Linked DNA regions of Homo sapiens: regions 1, 2, 3, 5 and 6 are each linked to region 4. Evidence: promoter capture Hi-C in 16 types of primary human blood cells and fetal thymus (Javierre and others, 2016). All regions are on one chromosome and are shown on one strand. The core of a region is centred on a gene start or on the middle of the fragment in contact, and the rest is flanking DNA. Distances in the headings are between cores, read along the strand shown.

The links. Contacts are between HindIII fragments. The CHiCAGO score rates a contact against its expected background, and 5 or more counts as called.
Region 1: a contact is called between a fragment that was not itself captured here and the fragment with the promoter of CD99 in region 4, in 13 of 17 cell types (non-activated CD4 T cells, activated CD4 T cells, naive CD8 T cells and 10 more). The highest score is 14.6, in non-activated CD4 T cells.
Region 2: a contact is called between a fragment that was not itself captured here and the fragment with the promoter of CD99 in region 4, in 7 of 17 cell types (neutrophils, naive CD8 T cells, naive CD4 T cells and 4 more). The highest score is 10.8, in neutrophils.
Region 3: a contact is called between a fragment that was not itself captured here and the fragment with the promoter of CD99 in region 4, in 14 of 17 cell types (non-activated CD4 T cells, activated CD4 T cells, monocytes and 11 more). The highest score is 26.8, in non-activated CD4 T cells.
Region 5: a contact is called between a fragment that was not itself captured here and the fragment with the promoter of CD99 in region 4, in 5 of 17 cell types (activated CD4 T cells, non-activated CD4 T cells, M0 macrophages and 2 more). The highest score is 7.7, in activated CD4 T cells.
Region 6: a fragment that was not itself captured here is called in contact with the fragment with the promoter of CD99 in region 4 in 7 of 17 cell types (M0 macrophages, naive CD4 T cells, naive CD8 T cells and 4 more); the score reaches 8.4 in M0 macrophages.

Annotation. Positions count from the first base shown.
Region 1 is chrX:1,592,649-1,597,146 of GRCh38, reverse strand. AKAP17A (A-kinase anchoring protein 17A) reads right to left here. Exons shown (of 5, transcript NM_005088.3): 2 at 2,923-3,703; 3 at 1,615-1,763. The coding sequence starts at 3,684. Among named protein-coding and RNA genes, the nearest start is that of AKAP17A, 3.3 kb to the right of the region's middle. The HindIII fragment of the contact is 2,741 bases long and covers 1,697-4,437 here.
Region 2 is chrX:1,686,191-1,690,718 of GRCh38, reverse strand. No RefSeq gene overlaps it. Among named protein-coding and RNA genes, the nearest start is that of LINC02968, 44 kb to the left of the region's middle. The HindIII fragment of the contact is 3,492 bases long and covers 640-4,131 here.
Region 3 is chrX:1,657,389-1,661,491 of GRCh38, reverse strand. No RefSeq gene overlaps it. Among named protein-coding and RNA genes, the nearest start is that of ASMT, 44 kb to the right of the region's middle. RefSeq lists enhancers at 3,193-3,692, 3,693-4,103. The HindIII fragment of the contact is 3,904 bases long and covers 1-3,385 here.
Region 4 is chrX:2,689,569-2,694,062 of GRCh38, reverse strand. It overlaps CD99 (CD99 molecule (Xg blood group)), which reads right to left and starts at 2,768. Exons shown (of 10, transcript NM_002414.5): 1 at 2,636-2,768. The coding sequence starts at 2,702. The HindIII fragment of the contact is 9,076 bases long and covers 1-4,494 here.
Region 5 is chrX:1,493,499-1,497,625 of GRCh38, reverse strand. All of the region lies in intron 1 of P2RY8 (P2Y receptor family member 8), which reads left to right. Among named protein-coding and RNA genes, the nearest start is that of P2RY8, 42 kb to the left of the region's middle. The HindIII fragment of the contact is 650 bases long and covers 2,544-3,193 here.
Region 6 is chrX:1,616,213-1,620,601 of GRCh38, reverse strand. All of the region lies in intron 1 of ASMT (acetylserotonin O-methyltransferase), which reads right to left. Among named protein-coding and RNA genes, the nearest start is that of ASMT, 3.3 kb to the right of the region's middle. RefSeq lists an enhancer at 1,455-2,092. The HindIII fragment of the contact is 4,661 bases long and covers 102-4,389 here.

The sequences.
Region 1 (4,498 bases), core at 1,818-4,317, 1.1 Mb after region 4:
ACACATCAACACGCTGGCACCAGCGTCACATAAAGCAGTGAGAAATGGAAACAAAACGGACCAACTCGGTCCCACCAGAGGCTGTCCAGGAGCCCCCCAGCCAAGTCCAACACGTCCCAGACTTGATATCGGCGACATGAAGCGCAACAGACGTGCAGGACGCACCAAAGTCGTCAGAGGACACAGCGGGAGGGACGGAGGACGAAGAGGAGTAGGAGGAGGAGGATTCCGCCTCACTAGGAGGGTGGGAGGGACGGAGAAGGAGGAGGAGGAATCCACCTCACTAGGAGGACACGGCAGGAGGGATGGAGGAGGAAGAGGACGAATCCGCCTCACTAGGAGGGCACAGCGGGAGGGATGGAGGAGGAAGAGGAGGAGGAGGAGGAATCCACCTCACTAGGAGGGTGGGAGGGACGGAGAAGGAGGAGGAGGAATCCACCTCACTAGGAGGGTGGGAGGGATGGAGGAGGAGGAGGAGGAATCCACCTCACTAGGAGGGTGGGAGGGATGGAGGAGGAGGAGGAGGAATCCACCTCACTAGGAGGGTGGGAGGGATGGAGGAGGAGGAGGAGGAATCCACCTCACTAGGAGGGTGGGAGGGATGGAGGAGGAAGAGGAGGATTCCGCCTCACTAGGAGGGTGGGAGGGATGGAGGAGGAGGAGGAGGAATCCACCTCACTAGGAGGGTGGGAGGGATGGAGGAGGAGGAGGAGGAGGAGGATTCCGCCTCAGGGGATTCACAGAAAGTTGTTGGTTCCCTCCTGCAATGCTAAGAAGATAAAAGGGGCTACAAAGAGTGACCTGAGGTTGTCTCTGGTACCCCAACCACAGTGAACGACCCAGGCAATTGCTTTAAAGGCCTCTTATGTGAAACCGGGTTTTTGTCCTATCATTGGTTTTTTGTTTTTTTTTTTTTTTTTAAATCTGGCCATCACCATCAACCCTCTACTTCATTTTGTAAATGTAGCCTCAACCTAAATGCAAACTTGCAAACAGCCAAGGCATTCTGCTTGTTTCAGCGGGAGGTGTGAACAGCATGTGGAGGGAGAAGAGGTGGCTCTTCGGGCAAGGCGCGGTCCTGGGAGCCGGCAGAGATCGTGTCAGACCACGACGTGTGACAAGAAAAAGAGAAACATTCATATTCTGCTGCGTCTCAAACAGCCACTCACGCAGGTCCTCACGTGCACAGCTGAGCACCCACAGGCCTGCACACACACCCATACGTGCACACACAAGTACACACACGGGTTCACAGGCACACACGCATGCACACAGGCACATGTGTGCTATGTGCCGATACAGAAGCACACACATGTGGGCACACGTGCACATACACACACAGGTACACACACGAGCTCACACACATGCACGCACACACAGGCACACGTGCACACAGATGCTCAGGCACACACTCGGGCGCACATAGGGACATACAAAGTACACACACCGGTTCACAGGCACACGTGCGTCCATGCACACAGGTACACACACAAGCTCACAAGCATGCATGCACACACACACGCACAGGAATACATGCAGACACACGCACACGGGTCTGCGCACACTCCCAGGTGCCGGACACCAGCGCCGAGGGCCCGCTCCCGCAGAAGGTACCTTTCCTCCGCTCGCTGCCTCTCCTCCGCTTCCTTCTCTCTGCGCTTTTGTTCTTCTCTTTGCTGCTCCAGTTCCTGAAGCTTCTGCCTCTCCAGCTGCCGCTTCTTAATTGAGGCATCACTCAGGTGTTTGGTCGAATCAAAAGAAACCTTTAAAAGCAAAAACAGTGTCAGATGGCCTTCCCCCAAAACCCCCCAGACACACGGCCAGGCGCCCTCTCCTGGGCCGTAGGGCCGAGTGGCCTCAGAGCCTGAGCGCCCGCTCACCGCTCACCGCTCACCACTCATGTCCGGTGCAGACCCAGACAGTGGAGCCCAGAAGCCAAACCAATCCCTTCAAGTCACCATCAGTGGCTCAAGACTTAGCTCATCCCACGGAGTTACGACTCAGCGAGGAACACCAACTAGCCCTCGCCACTTACTGAACACAAGTGACACGCCACCGCTGCGAGACACAGCTCCCCTTCCGCTACCCGGCTCCACCATTCCCTGTGGCCACAGTCACTGAGCAGGCCGCCTGCCCACACCCACAGGGCACATCTTAAGGCCACAAAACCCCCTCCAGGAGGCTGGCTCATTTGTCACTGTGAAGCCAACACGGTCAAAACACGAGGCTAGGCTGAGCGCAGTGGCTCACGCCTGTAATCCCAGCACTTTGGGAGGGCGAGGCAGGCAGTTCATGAGGTCAGGAGTTCGAGACCAGCCTGGCCAATACGGCAAAACCCTGTTTCTACTAAAAATACAAAAATTAGCCAGGTGTGATGGCACGCGCCTGTAGTCCCAGCTACTCGGGAGGCTGAGGCAGAAGAATCGCTCGAACCCAGGAGGCGGAGGATGCACTGAGCAAAGATTGCGCCACTGCACTCCAGTCCAGGAAACAGATCGAGACTCTGCCTCGAAAAAAAAATAAAAATAAAAAAAATAAAAAAAATAAAAAAGCACATGAGGCTAAAGGGAACGTTCAGCCCTGGTTTCAAGGTGCATTCTGGGAAGGCCGGGTTCTCTTGGTTCTGACACGGTTCAAATCCCTGTCAGAGTTCCTGAGGCTCCATCCCTCACCTACTATATGACCTGTGTCTCCCCCACATCTTCCTTAAGATACCAAATTTCCAAAACCACAGCACGGGACCCCTACTCCACCTCACGCCTGTGCCTCTGAAATTGGACAGGCACAGGACTGTTGCTGCCATTTTACTTAGGGGAGGTCCCCACAGCCTCAGGGGTGTGGCTGGGAGCGTTCTGCTGACCCTGCTGGAAGGAAGTCGCCAGAGGGAGGAAGCGCGTGGCTCTCTCGGTGCCCAGGACTCACCTTGATGTTGCAGGCCACGGCCTTGCCGTCCTCGCCCTTGTACATGAGTTTCATCCCGCGCAGGGCGCTCATGGCCTGGATGAAGCCCATGTACTCGCGGTACTGCACATAGGCCTCGAAGTTCAAGTGCCCCCCGAAACTGAAGGTGTGGAAGTTGCGGCCCGTCATCTCCTCCCGGTAGGGGTCCAGCATGGGGATGTCCACATTCCGGATCTCCCCGAACTTCTCAAACACCTTGACCAGGACGTCCTCGCTGGGCTTCTCGGAGCCCGACTCCTTCAGGGCGAACCACTTGCAGGGCAGCCCCTCCAGGTGGATGGTGTCCGGCCGCTCCCCCGGCAGGGTCTCGTTCATGTCCTTGGCGTCGCGGAAGAAGGAGTCCCAGTCGTGGCGGGTGGGGAAGTCGATCTTGAACTCGGCCGCGCGCACCTTCAGGATGTCGGAGAAGCCGCTGAGCTTGATGGTCTTGCCGTCCAGGCAGGCCAGAAAAGACTTGACCAGGCTCTTGTTCTCCACCTCCCCCTCGAAGCGGATGAAGTCCATGGTGCTCTTGGAAATACGCAGCGTGGAGAACTGGTGGTTCTGCACCATGCCCTTCAGCCTCTCCATCACCTCCCAGTTGGAGATGGACTTCCCCGGCTGCTTCAGCTGCGGGAGTGCCACGCTGATGGTCATCTTGGTGATGGGCTTCAGGTACAAGCCGTAAGCAGGGCAGAGCTCCACGGCCTCAGACGTGTCGTGCACGATGGTAGCCGCTGCCATAGCCTCCGGGACCTTGGGCCTGAAACATAAGACGCAGACAGTCAGCACCAGCACCCCCCACCTCCCCCGCCAATGAGGAGGGGCCAAGCCAGCAGGCACTTTCTGGACCCGGAGAAGAGAAACAGCAGTGTCTCTCTGCCGTGTCAGAGACCGGTTTCCACTTTGTTAACAGCCATCTCAACGGAGTTCTTTACTTTTTGAAATCATTAAGAGTACACCAAAGGGGAAAGAGCCGAGCTGATAAAGAACAGGTTAGTGTCAAAGCCTCGGTCAGCACTGCCCGACACCCTACATCCAGCAGCCAGCAGCTCCCAAGGCCTGCAGAATAGGAAGCTGAGCACGACCAGGCCCCTCACACAGGTCAAGTAGGAACGGGGACGCTACAAACGCCTAGCTCCACGGGAAGGGGCAGAGAGACACTGGGGAAGGGAAGGGGCCAGGGAGAGCACAGCTGCAGGCATCTGGAAAGGTTTTGTGGAGGGGGCGGCGGCCCTGTACTTGCCCTGATAAAACAGGAAGTCTCGGGCTGCAACAACAATCCAGAACCATGAACCCTAGTAATCTCCACGAAGGCCAAACGTATCCCAGCTTTAACCCACTCAAAGCCAAAAAGTACAACGAACTTTCCACAAGTTAGGGGCCGGAGTCCCCCGTCTGCGCCTTCTTTCTCCGCCCACCTTCATTAACCCACCTCTTCCCTGCTGAGCTGACGGGCAGCCACTTCCTGACGGCCAAGTCCAAGTAGAGGAAGCTTCACTCGCAGAAACCCAACCATCTCAGGTGACCGCCTCCGGCCCGGCCGCCCACCCCATCA
Region 2 (4,528 bases), core at 1,136-3,635, 1.0 Mb after region 4:
AAACAAACACACACAAAACTCTCCCTCCCAAATAAGCAAAACAAAAAAACCCACAAAAACATTCCAAGCCTGTAATAAGCTCACCCACCCTAAACCCTTAAGAACTCTTAGGTCTGTTTAAAAAAAACTGCTCCTAACCAAAATTGGCCCAAATCGTCTCTCAGGTTTATTTACCAAAATAAACCTGTCTTTAACTGTTAAGCCGCTTTTCCTATTTCTTTCCTCTTTCTTTAACTCTTACAGCCAGGGGCTGTGGGAGGGGAATGAGGAGGGACTGTTTTTTTGTTGTTGTTGTTTGTTTGATTGCAGAGGGAGTCTCACTCCGTCACCCAGACTGGAGTGCAGTGTCGTGATCTCGGCTCACTGCAAGCTCCTCTTCCCGGGTTCAGACCATTCTCCTGCCTCAGCCTCCCGAGTAGCTGAGATTACAGACGTGCGCCACCACGCCGGGCTGATTTTTGTATTTTTAGTAGAGACGGGGTTTCTCCATGTTGGCCAGGCTGGTCTTGAACTCCTGACCTCAGGTGATCCACAGGCCTCGGCCTCCCAAAGTGCTGGGATGACAGGCGTGAGCCACCGCGCCCGGCCCTGAGAGTGTTTCATGAGGACATAGTTTCAGTTGCGGAAGATAAACAAGCTTGGGAAGTGCAGGGTGGTGAAAACTGCACAATAATGAGAATGTCCTTAATGCTACTGAACTGTACATTTAAAAAAGGTTAAAAACAGGAGTTCAAGAGCAGCCTGGCCAACATGGTGAAAACTCATCTCTACTAAAAATGCAAAAATTAGCCGGGCACGGCAGCACACGCCTGTAGTCCCAGCTACTCAGGAGGCTGAGGCAGGAGAATCACTTGAACCCAGGAGGCGGAGGTTGTAGTGAGCCGAGATCGCGCCACTGCACTCCAGCCTCGGTGACAGAGCCAGACTCCTTCTCAAAAAATAAATAAATAACAGGAAGGGGAATATCACACTCTGGGGACTGTGGTGGGGTGGGGGGAGGGGGGAGGGATAGCATTAGGAGATATACCTAATGTTAAATGACGAGTTAATGGGTGCAGCACACCAGCATGGCACATGTATACATATGTAACTAACCTGCACAATGTGCACATGTACCCTAAAACTTAAAGTATAATAAAGAAAAAAAAAATTAAAAAAAATAAATAAAAAATAAATAAAAAATAAATTACCTTAGGGAAAACTGAAAAATAAATAAATAAATAAATAAATGGCCGGGCACAGTGGCTGATGCCTGTAATCCCAGTACTTTGGCAGGCCAAGATGGGCGGATCACAAGGTCAGGAGATCGAGACCATCCTGGCCAACATGGTGAAACCCCATCTGTGCCTCTGGTCCCAGCTACTCAGGAGGCTGAGGCAGGAGAGTCACTTGAACTCAGGAGGCGGAGGTTGTAGTGAGCAGAGATTACGCCACTGCACTCCAGCCTGGGTGACAGAGCGAGACTCCTTCTCAAAATAAATAAATAAGTAACTAAAAATGGTTAAACAGGTAAATTTTTTTTTTTTTTTTTGGAGCTGGAGTCTCACTCTGTTGCCCAGGCTGGAGTGCAGGGGCGTGATCTCGGCTCACTGCAAGCTCCGCCTCCCGGGTTCAAGCGATTCTCCTGCCTCAGCCTCCCGAGTAGCTGGGACTACAGGCGTCCGCCACCATGCCCAGCTAATTTTTTGTATTTTTAGTAGAGACGGGGTTTCACCGCGTTAGCCAGGATGGTCTCGATCTCCTGACCTCGTGATCCACCCGCCTTGGCCTCCCAAAGTACTGGGATTACAGGCGTGAGCCACCGCGCCCAGCCAAAACAGGTAAATTTTAGGTTACGTATACCTTACCCCCGTAAGAAACTCATTCAAGAATTTCAAAAAATTCAGAACTAAGCACTCTGTACCACCTCCTTTGTTAACTCCATGTCACTATCTCCTGACCCGCATTCCTGCAACCATCTCCTATCCTACCGGCTTACACAGTTGTTCCCCACAATTTACTTTCCCCCCTCCCCTCCCCCCGAGACAGAGTCTCACTCTGTCACTCGGGCTGGAGTGCAGTGGCACCATCTCGGCTCACTGCAACCTCCGCCTGTTGGGTTCAAGCAATTCTTCTGCCTCAGCCTCCCGAGTAGCTGAAATTACAGGTGCGCACCACCTCACCTCACCTGGCTAATTTTTGTATTTTTAGTAGAGACGGGGTGTCACCATGTTGGCCAGGCTGGTCTCGAACTCCAAACCTCAGGTGATCTGCCTGCCTCAGCCTCCCACAGTGCTGGGATTACAGGTGCGCACCACCACACCTGGCTAATTTTTGTATTTTTAGTAAAGATGGGGTTTCACCTTGTTGGCCAGGATGGTCTCGAACTCCCGACCTCAAGTGATCCGCCCGCCTCGGCCTCCCAGAGTGCTGGGATCACAGGCGTGAGCCACCGCACCTGGCTTATAATTTACTCTTGACACCGCTGTAAAGGGATCTTTTAAAAACCTTAGTGAAACGCATGTGAGTGCCCTACTCAAAAATCTACAATCTGTCCATCGAGAGAAGAGTGAAGTAACAAAATATAATTCATTCACATACGACTTCGAGTAACTCTATGTACCTCCCAAAGTCCTCATCTTCAAATATCATCACATTGGATGTTACGGCTCCACAAACGAATTTGGGGAGCAGTACAATTCAGTCCATTCAACGGTGTCTCCTCAAAAAGATATGAGTATGGCTTAACCCCCTAGAACCTGAGAATGGGACCGCGTTTGGTATAAGACTCTTTGCAGAAGTAATCTAGTTAAGGAGTTAGGGATGAGAACATCATGGATTAGGGTGAGCCCCAAGTCCACTATTTGTGTCTTTTTTTAAGACACGGAGTTTCACTCTTGTCCCCCAGTTGGGGTGCAGTGGCACGATCTCGGCTTACTGCAACCTGGCCTCCTGGGTTCAAGCAATTCTCCTGCCTCAGCCTCCCAAGTAGCTGGGACTACAGGCACCTGCCACCATGCCCAGCTAATGTTTGTGTTTTTAGTAAAGACAGAGATTCACCACATTGGCCAGGCTGGTCTCGAATGCCCGACCTCAAGTGATTCACCTGCCTCAGCCTCCCAAGGTGCCACCGCACCTGGGTTTTTTTTTTTTTTTTTTTGAGATGGAGTCTCTCTCTGTCACCAGGCTGGGGTGCAATGGCACGATCTTGGCTCACTGCATCCTCTGCCTCCTGGGTTCAAGTGATTCTCCTGCCTCAGCCTCCTGAGTAGCTGGGATTACAGGTGCCCATCACCACGCCTGACTAATTTTTGTACTATTAGTAGAGAGAGATTCACCATTTGGCCAGGCTGGTCTCGAACTCCTGACCTCGTGATCTGCCTGCCTCGGCCTCCCAAACTGCTGGGATTACAGGCATAAGCCACCATGTCCAGCCTTTTTTTTTTTTTTTTTTAAGAGATAGAGTTTCCCTCTTGTCGCCTACCTGGAGTGCAGTGGTGTGATCTCGGCTCACTGCAACCTGGCCTCCAAAGTTCAAGCAATTCTCTTGCCTCAGCCTCCCGAGTAGCTGGGACTACAGGCACCCACCACCATGCCCGGCTAATTTTTGTATTTTTAGTAGAGACAAGGTTTCTCCATGTTTGCCTGGCTGGTCTCGAACTCCTGCCCTTGGGTGATCTGCCTACCTCGGACTCTTAAAGTGCTGGGATTCCAGGCATGAGCCTATAAAGAGCTGGGATTACAGGCAGCTGATTGTACCTGTATCACTTAGATTTTAACTAGGAAAGCAAAGTCTGTTCAGTGCTTGTCTGAGTATATATTAATACATCTAGAATTCCATGCATTGCCTAAGTCTTTATCATCAAAGAAAATAGCTGTCCAAGAGCAGAAACCACTGATGAATTTGTGAGATGCTTTAGGAATATTTTGCCCAGCTGGCATTCACAGGAGGAGGCAATAGCTTCTTCCGGAGAACACCCGACCAAAACAATCACATTCTTTCTGATTTGTTTAGCTCTGATGTTGTTCAAAACTAGAGCAGATTTTCAGGCAAGACTGAAGTGGAGATAATAAGTCCTCCTTTGTGGGCTGGTGGTCCCTGCTGTCCCAGGAGAAGAGTTAAATCCACTCTTGGGAAGTGCCAAGAAAGCTTCGTGTTTTTTTATTTTTATTTTATTATTATTATACTTTAAGTTTTAGGGTACATGTGCACAATGTGCAGGTTAGTTACATATGTATGCAAGTGCCATGTTGGTGTGCTGCACCCATTAACTCGTCATTTAGCATTAGGTATATCTCCTAATGCTATCCCTCCCCCCTCCCCCCACCCCACAACAGTACCCAGTGTGTGATGCTCCCCACCCTGTGTCCATATGATCTCATGGTTCAATTCCCACCTATGAGTGAGAACATGCGGTGTCTGGTTTTTTGTCCTTGCGATAGTTTGCTGAGAATGATGGTTTCCAGCTTCATCCATGTCCCTACAAAGGACATGAACTCATCATTTTTTATGACTGCATAGTATTCCATGGTGTATATGTGCCACATT
Region 3 (4,103 bases), core at 184-2,683, 1.0 Mb after region 4:
GGGGCTAGAGGGCGGGAAGAGAAGGCCCTGTGTAATTGACAGCTGCCTGGCTCTCATTGACATCACCTGGCTGGGTGACTGCAGCAGGGCTCAGCCAATGGGGAGCAGGTGCAGGGGCTAGAGGGCGGGAAGAGAAGGCCCTGTGTAATTGACATCTGCCTGGCTCTGATTGACATCACCCTGGCTGGGTGACTTCAGCAGGGCTCAGCCAATGGGGAGCAGGTGCAGGCACTAGGGGGCGGGAAGACAGAGAAGGCCCTGTGTAATTGACATCTGCCTGGCTCTGACTGGCGTCACCCTGGCTGGGTGACTTCAGCAGGGCTCAGCCAATGGGGTCCAGGCGCAGGGGCTAGGGGGCGGGAAGAGAAAGAAGGCAAAGAACGGATTCCTTCTCCTCTACCTTTAGCCCTGGGCGTCAGGACTTGATAGAACAGCCCCTCCCTTGCTCCTTGAGGTCTGGGATTTGCATCAGCCTCCCTGGCGTTTTCTTCTCATTTGACCCGCCCCCCCTTCTCAGTGACCCTCCTTTTCTCCAAGGCTCTGACGCCACGGAGCAAGAAGTCAGTTCGCCGCCTGTACACTGACCTATGTAGGCAGATATTATTATTATTATATTATTATTACATTTTTATTATTATATTTATATTTCATTTTACTTTATTTTACTTTTTATCTTATTTTATTTTAGAGACAGAGGCTCGTTGTGTTGCCCAGGCTGTAGCGCAATGGTGCAATCTCGGCTCACTGCAACCCCCAACTCCCGGGTTCAAGCGATTCTCCTGACTCAGCCTCCTGAGTAGCGGGGATTACAGGCATGCGCCACCAACCCTGGCTAATTCTTGTATTTTTCAGTGGAGATGCGGTTTCTCCATGTAGGCCAGTCTGGTCTCGAACTCCTGACCTCAAGCGATCCGCCCGCCTCGGCCCCCCAAAGTGCTAGGATTACAGGCTTAAGGGTCATTTTTAAGAAGACTCCTTGTTCAAAGAAGTCTGCTGAGCAGTGAGTTTGTGCTAAAACAGCTTGCGAAGCTCGGAGAGGAGACTGTTCGCATTCCCGAACTCGTGTTGGGTCACACACGCCGCTGTTGGGAAGACAATGGCACCTGCCGCTCAGACCCATCGAGGCCGGACAGGGGTTTTATCAAGGTCAGCCCCAGGTCGCTTCCCGTCTGTAAATGGAGTCTCGTGGTGCCCGAGGTCGGGGGTGGCGATGCCCGGAGATCGTGCAACGGCTCCTGGGAGGTAGGAAGATCTCTGGTGCCGTCCGGGTGCACTCTGGGTGTGAGCACTAACCAGCGAGCCCCCTGGCCTGCAGAGACGGCCTTTCCTCCACACTCAGGTCACCTGTGAGGAATGTACCTATGGCCCAAGAAGCCGAGATGGCCCAGAGCGCAGGGCTCTCTCGGGGCAGGTTGTGCTTTTTCACACCTCGGACGCTGCCCTGCTGTTCCCTCCGCTACCACATCCACCCAGGGCTGAACGCACCAGGCTCGTTGCCACCAGGCCTCACCTGGGACCACACAGAGAGTGTCTGCCTGTGCCCCTCCTCTCACACACACAAATCAGCATGTGCCTATACACATACGCACTTGCACATACACGCACACACATAGATGCACACATGCAGACACACGTATACACACATGTGCAAATGCTCACATTCACATACACAAATACAAATACAAATGCATACAGACACTAACAGGCATACACACTCATACATATCCATATCTACACACACCCAAATATACACATGCACAAACACATACACACAAATGCATACAGACACCAGCATACACGTGCATACATATCCATATGTACACACACAAAGGCACACATGCACATATGCACACATACACACAAATGCATACAGACACTAATATACATGCTCATACATATCCATATCTACACACGCAAATATACACATGCACATACACACAAATGCATACAGACATTAATATACACGCTCATCCATATCCATATCTACACACACAAATGCACACATGCACATATGCACAAATGCATACACAAACAACTGCACACACACTAGCATGCATATACACACACATGCACACACACAGACACCCAAATATACACATGCAGAAACACACTCATGTGCAAATACATAATACACTTACACAGACATAAATACACAAATATAAACACACACATTCACATGCATACACAAAGAGGCAAACACACACAGACAGCCATACATATACAAACACACATCCACAAAGACACACACATATGTACAGACACAAACATAATCACAAGCAAAGATAACACACAAACACATACACAGACACACGCAGAAACACACACGCATACACACATTCCTGAAGCTCTCCACCTCTACCAGCCACACAACCATATGCACACACATACACATTTCTTAGTTAAGAAAAATAGACCGGGCGCGGTGGCTCACGCCTGTTATCCCAGCACTTTGGGAGGCTGAGGTGGGCGGATCACGAGGTCAGGAGTTCGAGACCATCCTGGCTAACACAGTGAAACCCCGTCTCTACTAAAAATACAAAAAATTAGCCAGGCGTGGTGGCTCATGCCTGTAATCCCAGCACTTTGGGAGGCCGAGGCGGGGAGATCGCGAGGTCAGGAGATCGAGACCATCCTGGCTAACACAGTGAAACCCCGTCTCTACTAAAAATACAAAAAATTAGCCGGGCGTGGTGGCGGGCGCCTGTAGTCCCAGCTATTCGGGAGGCTGAGGCAGGAGAATGGCGTGAACCCGGGAGGCGGAGCTTGCAGTGAGCTGAGATCGCCCCACTGCACTCCAGCCTGGGCGACAGAGTGAGATTCTGTCTCAAAAAAAAAAAAAAAAAGAAAGAAAGAAAGAAAAATAGAAAAACACATCTTTAGAAACTATCACCTGCAAACTGCAAAACAAACAAACAAACAAACAAACAAAAAAGTGTGCTGGGGCTTGGATACCACAACTGACAACCTAAATTATTGAGGTAGCAAACTGCCTAGAAGAGGTAGACATTTGCGGCCCTGAAATCAGGACCCGGCGGTGAGAGACACCGCCTGCGTTGTTTTTACAGTTTTATTAGCCACATCCCTCAGGGAATCTCACCGCAGGTCTCAGGAGCTCTCTCTAATCTTGTTAACCTTCTGCGCCTCTCCTCCCGGAGTACAAACTAATCTTTCTTAATGCAAGAGGACAGGGCAGCTTTGGAAAGGCCGTCACCAGACAGCCAGCGTTCCCCATCCTCACAACTGGACCTTGGAGAGCTTTGGTGTATGGAAACCGGCTCCCCTGGAGGGGGGAGGTGAAACGTTGAAACCCTGACAGACGGTGTCACTGAGCTTAGAGCTCATGTTTCTAGAAAAGGCAACAGATGCAGTGTCTGATGACGAAGCTTAATTTGGGATGTGCTGAGCAGGAATTATTTAAACCAATCCGTTGATGAATTTGTCTTTAAGGAATATGTCCTTTCTCTCGTGAGTCACTCAGGCTCCTGGACACCTGCCTGCCAGCCCTCACTGAATCTCCCCAGAGGCTCTTCATGTCTGCTGCCTGACAATTTTCTCCAGAGTGTACAAAAGCAAAGGAGAGAGCTCCCCTCCCAGACTGCTGGAGGGATGTGGGGACTTACCGCATGGCTGATGCTCTCAGGTTCCAGCCAGACTTAATGTCCTAAAATGCACCCAAGACAGGCAGGCCTGGGTCCAGACGGCCAGCGGGGAGGGCTGCCCGGGCTCGTCTGCAGAGCCCGGAAAAGGAGGAGGAGGTGAACAGAGGAAGGAGGAAGGGTGATGGGGCCTGCAGGGTGTGATATGACGTGAGTTATCACCTCCCTTTGTGCTGCTGCTGTTTCTTACTGTGGGAAAATACCCATCACACACAGTTTGCCATTTTAAAAATTGCACAATGAAGAGACGATTTAGTGCACTGAGCATTTTACACAACCACCGGCCCTAGCTAGTTCCAGAACACCTTCGTAACCCAAAAAAAAACACCCCATACCCATTAAACCGTCACTCCCCAGTCTCCCTGCTCTCAGCCTTAAGCAATCACCCATCTGCTCTCTGACTCTGCAAGCAGTCTTATTCTAGACACTTCATGCAAATGATATTGT
Region 4 (4,494 bases), core at 1,519-4,018:
GGGGCAGCCCTGAATCAGCGCATACATGCAACTCCCAAGCCCTCCTCAGGGTTTTCCACCCTCAACACCACTGGCATTTGGGACCAGATGAATTCTTTGTGCTGGAGGCCGTCCTGGCCCTTGAAAGATTCTGAGCAGCTTCCCTAAGCTGCCCCACCCATTGCAGGATGGTGGGATGTCCCACCCCAGGGTGGCAACCAAAAATGTCTGCAACCATCACAAAGTGTCTCCTCGGGGCCAACGTCGCCCTGTGGGGACATCCTGCTCTCTACAAAGCTGAAGCCTCCTCTTTTCCTCTATACACCTCCCTCTGTCCATCCATCCCTCACCACATCCCACCTGTACCCCTGAGAATTTATGAAGGAACCAAGGAACACAGGGTCCCCAACACTCTGAGATCAGGCCAGAGCTATCAGCACCAGTCTGAGAACCTACTTCAGGCTCAACGGGGTTTTGCAGCCTGATGCACGTTGCTATAAGAAAGTGTGTTCTGAGCATCACCAACTCAAAAGTCAACTTTCCCGATGAAACGTGTATTAATATTATTGGGACAGGCTGTTTCTGTCTCCATCTCTAGCAGGGTCAGACTGCAAAGAAGGGGTGAGAAGCGTCCCTCAAGGAGATCCATCAGTGCTGACGGCCAGGCCCTCCTCTGCAATTGGAAGGATAGGTTGGCCCCTGTTATGCCCCTATCCCACTGCTCTTCCCTACCCACCCACCCCATAGACAGGTACTCTTCCCTTTACTCAAAGCATCAGCAGCTGGAGTTCCTAAGCCCAGTCTGCTTCCAAAATCAGGAGTTCCAGATGAACACTGCTGTGGGTTTAAAAACTGTGCAACGCCAATGAGCCGACATCGTGCCACTACACTCCAGACTGGTGACAGAGTGAAACTCCGTCCAAAAAAAAAAAACCACCACCACCAACAAAAACAAAAAAACTGTGCAACGACTTGTTTGGGGCTTAGAGAATATAAGGCTTTCCACTCACTCTGCTCCAATGACCTGGAACGCCAGACCAGCCGGCAAATCTGTCCCTAGGGCTTCAAAATCCAGCCAAGCCCCTCACCAAGATTTACCACTGGGAACCCCTGAGTTATTTCGTGATGGAACTATAAAGGTCCCTGTGGCCCTGTCTCCCGTCTGCCTGTTCAGATGCCTCTGTTCTCCAGGAAACTGAATTCTTAGGCCACCAGCACTCCCTTGGATATATTTCCCTGACCCCAAGCCCACAGTAGGTGCAAAAGAAGGAAGGCAGGCATGAAGGATGAAGGAATGCATTCGCAGAGAGACAAGTGAAAAACCCGTTCATCTGCAGGTGCCTGGGGAACAAATGCAGCTGATAAAACCCTACAGAGCCATCCCGTCCGTGGTGACAGGTTGCCCGCAAGAAGGACATTTAGGAAGAAAAGGGAGAAACAGGAAGCTCTGCTTGGAACCTCCCCTGCAGGCTGGAAAGTCCTCCAAGTTTTCCTCTACGGAGCAGGCTTCATTATCTCTAATCTCTACCAAGTGAAAGCACAATTTCTAGGATACCCGGGACCCCTTTAAAGAGGGTGTAAATCCATTAGCAACTCCTCCCTAAAAATAGAGACCCGGCCTAGTCACCGCAGCTCTAGGCTGAGCTAGATCCTATCAACACAAATCGGGCCTCCTCCGTCCTCCCCAGGGCCGGGCGTTCCCGCGTCTCCTTCCTAAATACGTCCAGCCCTGATAAGGCCCGTCCTGAAGTCCACACTGCCCGCAAGCCGGTCTACTTAAAAGCCTGCCCATACGAAGAGCAAAAAATGCACTGACCATTGAAAAAAGAATTTATAACATGAAAAAAGAATTTATAACATACCACATCCGGCAGGGTCTCCGTTTCCGTTTCAAAGGGAGGGAAACAGAAAAACATGATTAAAGTAATAATTAGAAATAGGCCCGGTTTAGGGCGTGGGAGGGTGACCGTGGCTCTTTCTTCCCTGCCCACTTTTTCTGTTTTCCGAATTCTCCACCGCCGCAGATGGACAATTTGGTAAGCACACGTTTCTTTCTGCGCCCCGTGTTGCTTGGCGCACAGCACGCGCTGAAATTCCCGGAGCCCGCATCCACAGAGTATTTTTGAACATTTTCAGGGCTCAAAGTTTTTTTCTAACTTTTCCTTCCCTTCCCCCCACCACCCGGGTCTCAGGCTCCTAGCGATTCCAAATTTAGGCCCGGGACGCAGGGCGTGGCTGTGACAGGCAACTCCAGGGCGGCCTCCGCGCGCGGCCTGAAGACGCAGGTCCCCAAACCCTGGGGGTAGATAACGGGGTGGGGTGAGGGGCTCATGCAAAGGGAGAGAGATCTGTAAGAAGGTCCCCTAGATTGGGAAAAATCGGACGCACCTCTCCCAAGGCCGCCCCACATGTAAGAGTTTGCAACTCCGACAACAAACGCTGACTTTTCTCTCTGGAACGGCTCCAGGAAAAGCGTTGGGGAGAAAGTGGGCGCCTCCTCCGGGCCTGGGCCCCCGTGGGCACAGCGCGTCCTGCCGGGCAGGGAGGAGGCTCCGGGTGTCCCCGCGGGGCGCCCCCAACGCCGCATCTCAAGCGGATCCCCAGTCCCGGCCCGCGCCCTCCGCGTCCCCCAACCCGGATCCCTCCGCTCGCTCACCCGGGGCGGCGACCAGAACACCCAGCAGGCCGAAGAGCAGCAGCGCCAGCGCAGCCCCGCGGGCCATGGTGCGCCCAGAGCGCGCAGGGACGGTCCCGGAGTGCAGGGCGTGGGCGAAGGCGGCAGGACAGATACTCCCCCACGGGCCGGGTGGGGCGAAGCCCGGGGACTCGAAGGGGGCGGGTGAGGGGAGCGGCCCTGCAAGCTCAGCGCCGGCTGCGCCCGCCCCGCCCCGGCCTCCACGCGCGCACAGAAGGGGCGGGAACGCCGGGCCCGGGGAGGAGACAGAGGGGGTAGGCGGGCGGGGGTGGCCCAGGCAGCGCCGAGGGGAGTACGGTACACGCCCCGCCCCTTCTCAGGAAACTGCCCACGCCCCCTCACCCACCCACAGGGCCGTAGCCAGGGCGGCGCCGACCCGAAGCAAAGTGAACTACAACGTTCTCGGGAAAGTGCGGGTCCCTCCCGGTTTACAGCCCTCTGAATGCACGCCCGAGGGCGGCCCTTAACTGTAGTGGCACAAAACTGCCGCCCTTCTTGGAAACATAGAGCCCCCTCTCCCCACTCGCCCCTGCAGCCACTTCTCCGCCCCTCACCCCCTGGTCTCCAGTGGGAGCAAAAAAACAAACTTTCCCAGCAGCTCCCCTGCTCGGGAAAGTGCGGGTCCCTCCCTGTCTACAGCCTCCTAAATGCACGCCTGCAACTGTAGCGACACGAAACTGCCGCCCTTCTTGGAAACGTGTAGCCCCCCTCCCCACTCGCCCCTGCAGCCCCTTCTCCGCCCCTAGCAGGGACCCTCCCCTGCTCTGCAGTGGGAGCAGAGGAAACTCCCGGCTCCCCTGCTGGGAAAAGTATGGGGGCCCCTCCCCGCTGCTCACCTCAGGGAGTTCCCCAAGGGGAGCAAAGTGCAATCCTCTCCCTGCTCAGGAAGCCTAGGCCCCCGCTCCACAGGCAACCCCCGTCCCAAGTCCTTTCTAGAGCGTCCGAGCGCGGGGTGCGCAGCCGGGAGGGTGGCGGACGAACCCTTTGCGCCGGACCAAGGACAACCCTTGGAGTAGCCTCTGCGCTGGGGCAGTTTCTCCCCAGAATCCCCAGGACAAGGTTGGGAGTGGGGACTCCTGGTCACGGGAGTTAGTGAGGGGCAATAGGGAACGAGGTGCCTTCTATCTGGGGCACCTGGGCCCTAGTCCTGGTCATGGGCGACTCGCCTTCCAGTGGGCTTTGAGTTTAGACACCCTCCCGCGCCACTGGCCACAGCTGCAGTGCAGTTGTCGCCCTTCCCACACTTAACAATGTTATCTGTTAACACCTAAGCCTAAAATTGTATCCATTTTCCCGCAGGGTAGTGGAACAACTTTGCAGCCTGACAAATAACCCTGAATATTCTTGCATTCCACACTTCAAACTGTCCACGAAAAGAGTCAAACTAGGCCGGGCGCGGTGGCTCACGCCTGGAATCCCAGCGCTTTGGGAGACCGAGGCGGGTGGATCACCTGAGGTCAGGAATTGGAGACCAGCCTGACCAACAAGGTGAAACCCTGTCTCTTCTAAAATACAAAATTAGACGCGTGTGGTGGTGTGCACCTGTAGTCCCAGCTACTCAGGAGGCCGAGGCAAGAGAATCGCTTGAACCGGGGAGATGGAGGTTGCAGTGAGCCAAGATCAGGCCACTGCACTCCAGCCTGGGTGACAGAGCGAGACTCCGTCTCAAAAAAAAAGAAAGAAAAAAGAAAAAAAGAGAAAGGAGTCCAACTCTAACATATTTGAAGAGATTTATTCTGAGCCAAATATGAGTGACCATGGCCCATGACACAGCCCTCAGGAGGTCCCGAGAACGTGTCCTCAAGGTGGTCGGGGTGCAG
Region 5 (4,127 bases), core at 1,619-4,118, 1.2 Mb after region 4:
AGTGCCGTGGCACGGTCTCGGCTCACCGCAACCTCCGCCTCCCGGGTTCAAGCGATTCTCCTGCCTCGGCCTCCTGAGTAGCTGGGATTACAGGCACCCGCCACCATGCCCGGCTAATTTGTGTATCTTTAGTAGACACAGGGTTTCACCGTCTTGGCCAGGCTGGTCTCAAACTCCCAACCTCAGGCGATCTGCCCACCTCGGCCTCCCAAAATGCTGGGATTACAGGTGTGAGCCACCGTGCCCGGCCTACACTCCAGCTTGGGCCACAGAGTGAGACCTTGTCTTGAAAAAAAAAAAGAGAAAACCCTAATTAACATGCTATTTAAAAAAAAAAACATTGATCTCTCTCTGTGATGTTTGAGTTTCTTTTTTTTCTTTTTCTTTTCTTTTTTTTTTTTTTTGAGACGGAGTCCCACTCTGTCCCCCAGGCTGGAGTGCAGTGGCGCGATCTCAGCTCACTGCAACCTCCACCTCCCGGGTTGAAGTGATTCTCCTGCCTCAGTCTCCTGAATAGCTGGGATTACAGGCACCCGCCACCACCACGCCTGGCTAATTTTTGTATTTTAAGTAGAGACAGGGTTTCACCATGTTGATCAGACTGGTCTCGAACTCCTGATCTCAAGTGATCCACCCGCCTCGGCCTCCCAAAGTGCTGGGATTACAGGCGTGAGCCACCACGCCCGGCCTGATGTTTGCATTTCTATCCATACTGGTTTACTAGCGGAGTGACTGAGTTTCTAAAATACTAATATTAAAAATACTTGGCCAGGTGCGGTGGGTGCCTGTCATCCCAGCTACTCGGGAGCCTGAGGCAGGAGAATTGCTTGAACCAGGGAGGCGGAGGTTGCAGGGAGCCGACATCGCGCTACTGCACTCCAACCTGGGAGACAGAGTGAGACTCCATCTCACAAAAAAGAAAGAAAGAAAGAAAAAAAACTCCCAGGAAGCAGTGTTGAATATCTTCCCAAGTCCTAGTTACCTACAAATGACTGCTCCGTCTGAAGCCGCGGCTGACTGAATGTTTTAAGGGGACACCACCTTCCTTCCCAGCCTGTTCCCTCCAGGAAAATAGTAGAGGACAGAGGCTCCAAGAAGTAGATTTGGGAACTGCAGACAAGTTGCTTCCTGTGAACTGAGCGGAGAGAGAGAGAAACCCTCTGAGAGGGCAGAGGGCAGGATCCCAGGGAGTCGCACCCGGGAGGGCTGTGGCTGTGGCTGTGAGCCTTCTCATGTGGCTCCCCAACGCCAAGGCAGGCAGCCACTGAACAATTGTGAATAACCATTTCCCACCCTGTAACGTGCTGTCTCTACTGAGAAGCTGGCGGGGGAGCATGACTCCAGATGGCCTCGAGATGGTCTTTGGGATTCAACAGCAGGGAGAAGCCAGTGGTACCCAAGTTGACGTCCATTCAGCCTAGGTCTCAGCAGCATCCCAAGTTCACTTCCATTCAGCCTAGGTTTCGGCAGCATCTCTGACGTCTGCCTTCTCCCAACTGCTTCAGAGTGGATGGGTAGTCAGCTCGGCCGCCGTAATAAAACACTGCAAACTGGGTGGACTGTAAACAACAGACATTGTTTCTCCCACAGTCCTGGAGGCTGGAGGTCTGAGATCCAGGTGTGGGCAGGGCTGGTTCCTCCTGAGGCCTCTCTTGTGGACTTAGAGACATCGACTTCTCCCTGTGTCCTCACAGGGTCATCTCTCTGTGTGTGTCTGTGTCCTCATCTCCTCTTCTTATGAGGTGTCTTAGTCCATCTCAGGCTGCTGTCACAGAATACCGTAGACTGGGGGGCTTATACACAACAGACATTGATTCTCCCACAGTCCTGGAGGGTGGAGGTCTGAGATCCAGGTATGGGCAGGGCTGGTTCCTCCTGAGGCCTCTCTCCTGGGCTTGGAGACGCCGTCTTCTCCCTGTGTCCTCACAGGGTCATCTCTCTGTATGTGTCTGTGTCCTCATCTCCTCTTCTTATGAGGTGTCTTTGTCCATTTCGAACGACTATCCCAGAATACCATAGACTGGGCAGCTTAGAAACAACAAACATTGATTCTCCCACAGTCCTGGAGGCTGGAGGTCTGAGATCCAGGTATGGGCAGGGCTGGTTCCTCCTGAGGCCTCTCTCCTGGGCTTGGAGATGCCGTCTTCTCCCTGTGTCCTCACAGTGTCGTCCCTCTGTGTGTGTCTGTGTCCTCATCTCCTCTTCTTATGAGGACACCGGTCCTATTGGATCAGGGCCCACTCCTGGTGACCTCATTTTACTGTAGTTAACTCTTTAAAGAGGTAACCTCCAAATACAGCCACATTGTGTGGTCCTAGGGGTTAGGACTTTAACGTATGAATTTGGGAGGGTACAATGCAGCCTGTAACAGACACAACACTCAGAAAATATATACTGAGCTCGCTGTTTGTAATAAAGGGCTCTCCCTTTAATTTTTAAGACAGGGTCCTGCTCTGTCACCCAGGCTGGAGTGCAGTGGTGTGAGTTCAATTCAGTTCCGAACAGTGAGTACAGTGCAGTTCAGCTCACTGCAGCCTCAAGCTTCCAAATAAAAAACTGTCTTAGCATCATCCAATGAGTACTGACTACTTTTAAATAGTGAATACGCAGCCGGGCGCAGTGGCTCATGCCCGTAATCCCAGCACTTTGGGAGGCCGAGGCGGGTGGATCACCTGAGGTCAGGAGTTCAAGACCAGCCTGACCAACATGATGAAACCCTGTCTCTACTAAAAAAAAAATACAAAAAAAAAAAAAAATTAGCCAGGTGTGGTGATGTATGCCTGTCTTCCCAGCTACTTGGGAGGCTGAGGCAGAATCATTTGAACCTGGGAGGAGGAAGTGACAGTGAGCGGAGACGGTGCCATTGCACTCCAGGTTGGGAGGCAGAGCGAGACTCAGTCTCAAAAGAAAACAAATAGTGACTATGGACATACATATTTTTAAAAATTAGTATTTTCACATAAAGCATAAAGTAATATCCAATATATCCAAGAGAAGCTGTCCTTAAGTTTAACCCATTTTCTAATCCTAAACTAACCCTTCTGAGGCAATGGTCCCGCATACATGGAGGCCAAACTCATTTTTTTTTTTTAAAGCCTAATTGAAAAATACCGCATTAGGAGAAAAACACATAAAATCCCCCTCGGATTACCTGACCTCGCTCCCTGGGGCCCAGGGCCAAAAAGAGGAAGCTTTTCCATCTATTGTTGCTCTGGCCAGTTTCATAACCGCCATGCACCAAGCTCAGTCTGCAGATGACAGATCGCAGCTAAGAGCAGCTTGCTGGGTCTCCGGAGGCTGCTGGTGTCTGTCTCAAGGTGCGGTGCAGGCACAGCCAGTGGGATTTTTTTCCCAGCAGAGCAGAGAGCTGGCCCTCCACTCCTGCTCCTGTGCGGAGCTCACTCCCATAGGGCAGCCGCCTCTGGCCCAGGAGGAGGGTCCCCCAGGACCCCCTGCCTAGCTTGACGGCTGCTCAGACAAGCACCACCAGACCAGCATCACCCAGGACGTCTGCCCTCCCTGCAGCCACCGTTGTAAGTCACGGGGACCTGGGAGTGTTCGGGTAGGAGAGGCTGCTCTGCAGAAATACCCCAGCTAGCAGGGCATATCCAGGCCAGAGACGCTGCTGAATGCCAGAGAAAGCCCTCAGCTCAGCCTCCCTTTGGGGTGTGTGATTTTTAACCCGGGCTCACCAGAGTGCTGCAAAAGGACACACAGCCTCCAGGCAGGAGCTGTGCCATTTGCACAAGCTCTCGAGGGTCGCAGAGAGGGCTGAGGTTGGCCTAAAACAGACCCCCTTCTTGCACATCTTCAGACGTTGCCGCAAGAAAAGAGCAAAATCGTCTTGTCCGTTTTAACGGAGATTCCCAGTTTGCAAGCCAATTGTTCCTTTGACGAGGGGTACAGGCCGGCCCACGCCGAGATGCTGGGTTGGGTGGCTCTCGGATGAAGAAAGTCCCACCTTCTTTAAAATGCGCTCTCCCAGAAATCTTCTTCACACCTGTCTTTGGCTTTTATTTTGCTTTTGTTTTGTGGGGAGGAGACGTTGTTCTTGGTTTTTCGCTAATAAAAATAGTTCACGTCGACTGAGTGAGGAGGAAGCAGCAGCCACTTTTACAAGGGCTTTA
Region 6 (4,389 bases), core at 1,183-3,682, 1.1 Mb after region 4:
GGTATTAGCTTTTTTATTAAACTGTTATCAATTCCTGTTTGGTTAAGGTTGCATTGACTGTTTGTTTCAGTAAGTCTGCATAAAGTTTATTATTCTAAGCTTGTATTAGCTCCTTTTCTATTAAAGCTATATTAGGCCAGGTGCAGTGGCTCACACCTGTCATCCCAGCACTTTGGGAGGCCAAGGCAGGCAGATCACTTGAGGTCAAGAGTTCGACACCAGCCTGGCCAACATAGTGAAACCCCGTCTCTACTAAAAATACAAAAAGTAGGCATGGTGGTGCACGCCTGTAATCCCACCTATTCGGGAGGCTGAGGCAGGAGAATCGCCTGAACCCGGGAGGCGGAGGTTGCAGTGAGCTGAGATCATGCCACTGCCCTCCAGCCTGGGCAACAGAGTGAGACTAGGTCTCAAAAAAAAAAAAAAAAAAAAAAAGCTATATTAATTCTTGTTCTTTAATGTTGTATTAACCTTTTTCTTTTTTATTTATTTATTTATTTATTTATTTTGAGACGGAGTCTGGCTCTGTCACCCAGGCTGGAGTGCAGTGGTGCGATCTCGGCTCACAGCAAGCTCCGCCTCCCGGGTTCAAGGGATTCTCCTGCCTCAGTCTCCCGAGTAGCTGAAACTACAGGCGCCCACCACCACGCCCGGCTAATTTTTAAAATATTTTTAGTAGAGACGGGGTTTCACCGTGTTAGCCAGGATGGTCTCAATCTCCTGACCTCCTGATCCACCTTCCTCGGCCTCCCAAAGTGCTCAGATTACAGGCATGAGCCACCACGCCCGGCCCGTATTAACCTTTTTAAATTAGCGTTCTGTTTTGTTTTATTCATTAAAGTTGTATTCATTCCTTTTGGGGTTGTCTCAATTAATTGTTCTTTTAAGGGCATATATTAAATGTTACCTTCTTATGGCTGAGTTCACCCTTGGTCTATGAAAGGTGCATTAACTGTTTCTGTTAAGGGTACGCTAACTTTGATCTTTTTTTTTTTCTGCTCCCAAAGACTTTTTATTATTATTATTATTATTATTATTATTATTATTATTATACTTTAAGTTCTGGGGTACATGTGCAGAACGTGCAGGTTTGTTGCACAGGTATACATGTGCCATGGTGGTTTGCTGCACCTGTCAACCCGTCACCTACATTAGGTATTTGTCCTAGTGCTCTCCCTCCCCAGCCCCCACTTTTTTTTTTTTTTTTTGAGACAGGGTCCCGCTCTGCCCCCAAGGCTGGAGTGCAGTGGCGTGATCTCGGCTCACTGCAACCTCCACCTCCCGGGTTCACGCCATTCTCGTGCCTCAGCCTCCCAAGTAGCTGGTACTACAGGTGCCCGCCACCACGCCCAGGTAATTTTTGTATTTTTAGTAGAGATGGGATTTCACCATATTGGCCAGGCTGGTCTCGAACTCCTGACCTTGTGATCCGCCCGCCTCGGCCTCCCAAAGTGCTGGGATTACAGGCGTGAGCCACTGTGCCTGGCCAAGGGTATACTAAATGTTATCTTCTTAAGGCGATATTCACTCTTGGTCTATGAAAGCTGCATTAGCTAATTGTTTCTGTTAAGGGTGTACTAAGTTTGATCCTCTTAAGGTGGTATTAACTCTGCATTAACTCTGGTTCTGTGAAACTTCTGACAACTCCCATGACATGGTATCATGTGCCTTAAAGTGACTGCTCTTCCAAGATTTAGAACCCACCAGACCACCTCCCTGAACACCGCTGTGAACCAGCGACAGTCTTTGAATGAGCAGTCAATAGCCCCAGCAGGAGGCCTGCGGTCAAAGGAGGCAAAGGTAGCAAGTTACTGTTGTCTGGGACAGTAACAGAAATCCCACCTTTACTAAAAAATAGAAAAATTAGCCAGACATGTTGGCTCATGCCTATAATCCTAGCACTTTGGGAGGCTGAGGCAGGCAGATCACCCGAGGTCAGGAGTTCGAGACCAGCCTGGACAACATGATGAAACCCCGTCTCTACCAAAAATACAAAAAATTAGCTGGATGTCAGTGGCTCACGCCCGTCATCCTAGCACTTTGGGAGGCTGAGGCAGGCAGATTGCCCAAGGTCAGGAGTTCAAGACCAGCCTGGCCAACATGATGAAACCTCATCTCTACCAAAACTACAAAAAATTAGCCAGAGGCAGTAGCTCACACCTGTAATCCTAGCACTTTGGAAGGCCGAGGCAGGCAGATCGCCCGAGGTCAGGAGTTCGACACCAGCCTGGCCAACATGATGAAACCCCGTCTCTGCCAAAAATACAAAAATTAGCCGGGCGTGGTGGTGGACGCCTGAAATCCCAGCTACTCAGGAGGCTAAGGCAGGGGAATTGCTTGAACCTGGGAGGGAGAGGTTGCAGTGAGCTGAGATCATGCCACTGCACTCCAGCCTGGGCAACAACAGTGAAACTCCATATCAGAAAAATAAATAAAAATAAAAATAAAAATAAAAGTTAGCCAGGCTTGGTGGCAGGCACCTGTAATCCCAGGTACTCAGGAGGCTGAGGCAGGAGAATCGCTTGAACCCCGTAGGCGGAGGCCGCTCTGCGTATCAGTGGCTGGGGAATAGGTATTTTTAACCCTTGGGGGCCTAGAGGTAAAATTCACGGGCTCTACAAACCAGGAAGGAGAAGAGACTTCACTCTAATTTTCACTACCTCTTCCTAAGATGTGGTGTTCCCTTCAACCATGAGCGTACTGGCAAACCACAGCCATGATAGAAGAAAGTGTGGGGGCCAGGAGGATCACCTGAGGTTGGGAGTTCGAGACCAGCCTGACCAACATAGAGAAACCCCATCTCTACTAAAAATACAAAATTATCTGGGCGTGTTGGAACGCGCCTGTACTCCCAGCTACTCGGGAGGCTGAGGCAGGAGAATCGCTTGAACCCGGGAGGCAGAGGTTGCAGTGAGCCGAGATAGCGCCACTGCGCTCCAGCCTGGGCGACAAGAGGGAAACTCTGTCTGAAAAAAAAAAAGGAAAAAAACAAACAAAAAAAACCGGTGGCTTGCTGACGGAGAGAAACCACAGATATTTTCAAGTCACACGAGAGCTGCTGCAGACATCTCAAAATATCGTCAGCACACGACCCCCTTTCACGATGATGCTGGTTTTTGGTTTTTGTTCTGAGACAGAGTCTCACTGCGACACCCAGGCTGGAGTGCAGTGGCATAATCTCGGCTCACTGCAACCTCTACCTCCTCCGGGTTCAAGCAATTCTCCTGCCTCAGCCTCCCGAGTAAATGGGATGACAGGTGCCCACCATCATGCCTGGCTAATTTTTATACTTCTAGTAGAGACGGGGTTTCACCATGTTGGCCAGGCTGGTCTTGAACTCCTGACCTCAAGTGATCCGCCCACCTTGGACCCCAAAAAGTGCTGGGATGACAGGCATGAGCCACCGCGCCCTGCCGTTTATTTTTTAAAGAGACTCAGTATTGCTCTGTCATCCAGGCTGGAGTGCAGTGGTGCAATCATAGCTCACTGCAGCCTTCATCTCCTAGGCTTAAGCGATCCTCCCGCCTCAGCCTCCTGAGTAGCTGGGACTACAGGTGTGCACCACCCCACCTGGCTAATTTTTAAAATATTTTTGGCCAGGCACAGTGGCTCACGCCTGTAATCCCAGCACTTTGGGAGGCCGAGGCGGGCGGATCATGAGGTCAGGAGATCGAGACCATCCTGGCTAACACGGTGAAACCCCGTCTCTACTAAAAATACAAAAAATTAGCCGGGCGTGGTGGCGGGTGCCTGTAATCCCAGCTACTCGGGAGGCTGAGGCAGGAGAATGGCGTGAACCTGGGAGGTGGAGCTTGCAGTGAGCCGAGATCGTGCCATTGCACTCCAGCCTGGGCGACAGAGCGAGACTCTGTCTCAAAAAGAAAAAAGAATTTGTAGAAATGGGGGGTCTCACTATGTTGCCCAGACTGGTCTCGAATTCCTGGGCTAAAGCGATTCCCTCGTTTCGGACCCCCAAACCGTTGGGATGACAGGTGTCACCGCTGAGCCCGGCCATCATTAACCCTTTTCAAGCATAATTCAGGGGCACTTAGTACATTCGTGATGTTGTATAGCCAGCACTTCCGCCGGGTTCCAGAACATTTGCATCACCCCAAAAAGGGACACTGTCTCCGTTAAACACTCCCTCCGCAGTCCTGCCCAGCCTCTGCAAACCACCAGTCCACTTTCCACCTCGAAGGATTTGCCTGCTCTGCACATTTCATATAAATGAAGTCATACCATATGGGGCCTTTCACGTCAGCCTTCCTTCACTGAGCACGATGTTATTCTGTGAGAAGAAGAAATGAGGCCTTGGGAGGCCGAGGCAGGTGAATCACTTGAGGTCAGGAGTTCGAGACCAGCCTGGCCAACATGGTGAAACCCCATCTC